Regions from separate parts of the Homo sapiens genome. Here region 1 is linked to region 2. Evidence: promoter capture Hi-C in 16 types of primary human blood cells and fetal thymus (Javierre and others, 2016). All regions are on one chromosome and are shown on one strand. Each heading gives the region's core, a stretch centred on a gene start or on the middle of the fragment in contact. The rest is flanking DNA. Distances are from core to core; before and after follow the strand shown.

Region 1 (2,700 bases), core at 176-2,675, 270 kb after region 2:
ACTATCTTATCACACCCATCCCCAAAACATAAGCTCAAATTTCTATTCCTTTAAGGTCATCTATGTCAAAGAGAATTAATGTGATGTTAGCATTAAAATAATTCCTGCTGACATACAGGTGACTTATAAATCTTTGCACCTTGGTAGGGTAATGAGCAGGGCATGCTTTGAATCAGAGGTGGGGTAATGGAGAGAGGTAGCATGATAGAAAGCTTCCCAGTGCCCCTTGCCTATTTAGGGGTTTTGCTTTCTTCTTGCTCAGAACCCATTTTTAAGAAGCAAATGGTCTTCAGTTTGTTTCCTCACTTCCTTAAGACTGTTAAACCTAATCAAAATTATTTAAGGTGCCTAGTCTTCCATTTTGTTCTTAAATATCAGTCCACAGAACCATAAATCAAGAGCAATCCTTCATTCTATCACCTACTTCCCATCAATTACCAATACCGTCTAGTCTACCTTCAAGAGTATTCTCTTCTCTATCTATATGCCATTGTCTTCATCCAGGCACACATTATCTGTTACCTGAATGTACAATGACCTTCTAATTAAGCATCTTGATTCAAGGCACTCCGATCCATTGCCAAACCATCTCACACGTTGGTTACCCGAGTAATCTTTAGAAAACACAAACATAACCTTCCCTGAGACTAATCCCAATTCCACCCCACCCCAGCCAATGGTGCCCATCACTTGCAAGGCAATGTCTAAACCTCTTAACAGGACAATCTACCCCCCTCACAATATAGTCTTTGTCTCCCTGTCTAGACTCACCTCTTGATGCTTCCTTGACTCATACACACCTATGTATAGCAACATCATTTTTCTTACATTTCCCTGAACATACCATGCAAATTCAGTGCCCTGGCCCACTCTGTCCACTCTACCTAGACTCATTTGTTCCATTATGTATCAATCCTGAGCATCCTTCAACCCCCAACTGAAGAATTACTTCCCCTGTAAAGCTTTTGCTGATATCCAGGCAGCATTAACTATACGCCCTTGTGTTACTACCATGTAAGTATTTCATCGTCTCTAAGCCTCAATTTTCCCAGCTGTAAAATATAGATAGTAACAGTGTATATATGTAGAATTATTATGAGGATTAAATGACATAATACAGGTACAGCTTTTAATACAATGCCTGACACACAGTAGCCATGCAAAATAAGCACAACTATTCGTGGTGTTATTACGTTAAGGCACTTTTTGTACTCTTGCATATTTCTTAGTTTACCTGTTGCTACACTATCAGAATATGAGCTTCTTTTGCCTGGAGGCTTTCTCTTTATCCAGATCTGTTTGACCAAGAATAGGCACACTGCCTGGCACAGACAGGTAACTTGCTGAATGGCTACTGAGGGGCACAATCTATAAAATAAAGAATGTTTTACTATTTTTAGTATTAATTCCAACATTTGTCCTTAATTACAAACAAATTAAATTGTATGTATATGTGAGTTACACACACACACACACACACACATGCACACAGTTCTTGGATTCAAATAATATAACCATCACAACATTAATGGGTTTATTTTTTCCTTCAAAAGCTAAGTGAACTTAATTCTTTAGCAAATTCCCCTTCCACTTTCCATCTGTGACAAAATAGAATAATTTTTGTTTACTCTTAAAATTTCCATGTCAGAATTGTGTGTTACATATGTGCTAAAATCAAGTGCTGGAGTTCCTGGTTCTAGGATGTTTTGATTCCTCCCCTCTGAGGAAGATTGTTCTATTGTCACACTGTGAAAGAATTAGTGTTAACTTTTGAGAAGGAAGTACACTGGTCACTTGAAACGTCCATAATTGCCAATTTTCAGAACTATTTGTTAACTTGTGAAAAAAAATCACACATTCATGGATTTCAAAAATGCAGCAAGCTTTGTTCTAAACTCAATGAGGTGCTTCACTGGAAAAGGTCACGAATCCTAGCCCTGGCATGGCTAGAGGGAAATGCACTCATATAAAGTGCACACTTCCAATGTGATTGATGTTCAGTTCTATTTGCATATTCAAATCAATACGGTGCACCCCAGTGTGCTTTGGGCTGTCCAAAACCAAGACAAACTGATCTGGGAGATGAGGTGGACTGGTAAGACAGATAGTGATGAAACACTTCCCAACAGACAAGTGAGCTTGCCATTTCTTGAGGAAAAGTCATTCAGAGAAGTGTCACCAGCCTGTGGCTAAAACATAAATGACAATATTGGTCTCTCTGGAGGATGGGCCTGACAAGACTAGGCAGATCTTCAGGGATCTGAACAACAGAACTGGGGTGCCGGCAGGGAAACTGAGTCAGGCACTTAGTTCTACAGATCACATCACTATAGCAGAGATGAGAGTGTACAGCAGGTCATGATTGTGCTGAGGCTATCAAGGCATGCTTTACCTAGACCAACAATAAACCAACAATAAAGATTCTATCCCTGTTCAGGTTTTGGCTCTGGAAAAGGTCGGGGCTAAGCCTGTAAACAAAGTGACCCTGTGCTTGCAGCAAGGAGTGGGGGTGGCACTCTTTCTTGTTCTACAAAGGACTGGATGCCAAAAGGCAGCTACATGAGCCCCCGATGAAGGATCACTCTTTGAGTCAATATCAAACAAGTGAAGAGTAAGGTCTTTTTCTGATCTGTCTTTCCTTACCTACCCACACATGAACTCACTTGTTCATTGCCCTTTAGTTATTTGGTTCTAGCTCAA
Region 2 (2,733 bases), core at 6-2,505:
CTGCACCCAGCTGAATATTGAAGAATGTTTTGAATGTTGAAGAACCTGAGGCAGTGCAACAGAAACATTAGCCTGGTCTAGCGTCTGGCTCTAGGTCTAGCCCTAGATGAACCCCAAATCTTTTTCTCCCTGCTATAAGCTTTCATTTCCCTCTTTACTGTCCCTTAAACAATGACATGAGACATCCAAGCCAGAGGAACATCCCATCTTTACCGACAGTGACGGGGCCAGAAAGAGGCCCCGACCTTCCTCATCCCCTCATAGTCAGACCTACCCAGCCTCCCTGGACCAATCACTGGGACCCCTGCCCTGGACAGTGGAATCGGCTCCAGGTCTGCCTGAGGGCCTCCTTGACCTCCTTATTGCGGAGGCTGTAGATGAGTGGGTTGAGAGACGGGATGACCAGGGTATAGAACACAGAGGCCATCTTGTCAGTGTCCAGGGCATAGCTGGAGCTGGGGCGCAGGTACATGAAAATGAGTGTCCCGTACATCATGGCCACGGCTGTGAGGTGGGAACCACCGGTGGAGGCTGCTCGCCGACTGCCCTCGACCGAGCGCATGTGGATCACAGCCCCAGCGATGAAGCCATAAGACACCGTGATAGCTAACACCGTGGCTGTCTGGATGAAGCCACAGATGGCGAAGAGAAGGAGTTCATTGAGACTGGTGTCACTGCACGAGATGGCCAGCAGTGGAGGGATATCGCAGAAGAAGCTATTGATCTTCCGGGAGCGGCAGAAGCTCAGGCGGAAGGTGAGGGTTGTGTGAACAAAGGCACTCACTGCCCCACCCAGGCCTGATGCTCCCAGCAAGGCCAGGCATAGACGCTGCGACATAGCTGTTGTATAGAGAAGTGGGTTTCTGATGGCCACGTAGCGGTCATAGGCCATGGCTGCCAGCAAGCAACACTCAGTATCAGCCAGACCTGCAAAGACAAACATCTGGAGGGCACAGGCTGTGTAAGGGATGGTGGCTCGGGGCAGCAGCAGGTCCACTAGCATCTTGGGGCCGATGGCGGAGGAATAGCAGGCATCCAGCAGGGAGAGGTTGGCCAGGAAGAAGTACATAGGTGTGTGGAGCCGGGCATCCATGCGGATCAGCAGCGCCATGCCCATGTTTCCCAGCAGGCTCACCAGGTAGACAGGCAGGCAGGTCAGGAAGAGGGCCACACGCAGGTCCCAGCGATTTGTGATGCCCAGGAGGACGAATTCAGCAGGGGCAACCGCGGCCCGGGTGAGGTTCTCTGAGTTCATCCTACTGGACAGAGACTGAGAAGAGGCAAAGCAGGAGGGAGATAAGAGCAATGGCAAGGCCATGGCCAGGGAGAAGAAAGCATCCTGTACTGGGAGTTAGGTAGGCTTGGGTTTCAGCTCACCTGTGCAACAAAATTGCTGTGACCTTGAGCAAGCCACGTAACCTCTCAAAACCTGTTTCTAACTCTTAGAAGTCATTGCAGAAGCCTTTTTTTGTTTTTGAGATGGAGTTTTGCTCTTGTTACCCAGGCTGGCGTGCAAAGGTGTGATCTCAGCTCACCACAACCTCCGCCTTCTGGGTTCAAGCGATTCTCCTGCCTCAGCCTCCCAAGTAGCTGGGATTATAGGCATGTGCCACCGTGCCTGGCTAATTTTATATTTTTAGTAGAGATGGAGTTTCTCCATGTTGGTCAGGCTGGTCTCGAACTCCCAACTTCAGGTGATCCGCCCACCTCAGCCTCCTGAAGTGCTGGGATTACAGGCATGAGCCACTGTACCCGGCCCGTCTTTTTTTCTTTTTTCTTTTCTTTTCTTTTCTTTTTTTTGAGATGGAGTCTTGTTTTGTTGCCCAGGCTGGCGTGCAGTGGTGCAATCTTGGGTCACTGCAACCTCCGCCTCCTGGGTTCAAGTGACTCTCCTACCTCAGCCTCCCGAGTAGCTGGGACTACAGGTGCCCGCCACCATGCCCGGCTAATTTTTGTATTTTTTAAGTAGAGGTAGGGTTTCACCATGTTGGTGGTCAGGCTGGTCTTCAACTCCTGATCTCAAGTCTGCCTGCCCCAGCTTCCCAAAGTGTTGGGATTACAGGTGTGAGCCACCACGCCCAGCCTTTTTTTTTTTTTTTTTAAAGAGACACAAGGTCTCACTATGTTGCCCAGGCTGAACTAAAATTCTTGGGCTTAAGTGATCCTCCTCCCACCTCAGCCTCCCAAGCAGCTGGGATTATAGGCATGCTCCACCACACCCACAGGGGTCTTGTCCCTCTTATTCACTTTTGTGTCTACAGCACTGAGAGCATTGCCTAGCACATAGCTGGTGCTCAAAAAAGATTTGTTAAATGAATGAATGGGATGATATTTAGTGTCCAGCCAATGATTGAAAACTTTGTGACTCTATATGCATTCTCCTCTCCAGTTTTCCAGGTAAGAAAAGAGACAGTGGAATGAGCAGAAATAATCTTCAGATCCAACGGGCACCTGGCCATGGCTTTTGAGGTTTGCTAGTAGGGACATCTTTCCTTTGGAGTAAGATCGGAGAAAGGAGTAGCCTGGTATCTTGCGAAAACAGTGGGGAGTAGAAAGAACAGAAAATGTGAATATATTCCTGAGCTGAATTCTTGGCCTCTCTGAGCCTCAATGTTCTCATCTGGATAATGGGGGAAAGCTGCAAGGATTCGATGAGATAATGCATGTAAAGCTTCTCACACAGGGCCTAGCACACGCAGGCATTTAACAAAGGCCCTGCGAATGGAAATAAAT

Evidence for each region. The method cuts DNA at HindIII sites, captures the fragments that hold promoters and counts their contacts. A CHiCAGO score of 5 or more calls a contact.
Region 1: a fragment that was not itself captured here is called in contact with the fragment with the promoter of OR5C1 in region 2 in 5 of 17 cell types (endothelial precursors, M0 macrophages, M1 macrophages and 2 more); the score reaches 8.9 in endothelial precursors.

What each region holds. Positions count from the first base shown.
Region 1 is chr9:122,521,367-122,524,066 of GRCh38, reverse strand. It overlaps a transcript of OR1J2 not described here. Among named protein-coding and RNA genes, the nearest start is that of OR1J4, 3.6 kb to the right of the region's middle. The HindIII fragment of the contact is 921 bases long and covers 965-1,885 here.
Region 2 is chr9:122,787,455-122,790,187 of GRCh38, reverse strand. It overlaps OR5C1 (olfactory receptor family 5 subfamily C member 1), which reads right to left and starts at 1,255. Exons shown (of 1, transcript NM_001001923.1): 1 at 293-1,255. The coding sequence starts at 1,255. The coding sequence ends at 293. The HindIII fragment of the contact is 2,532 bases long and covers 142-2,673 here.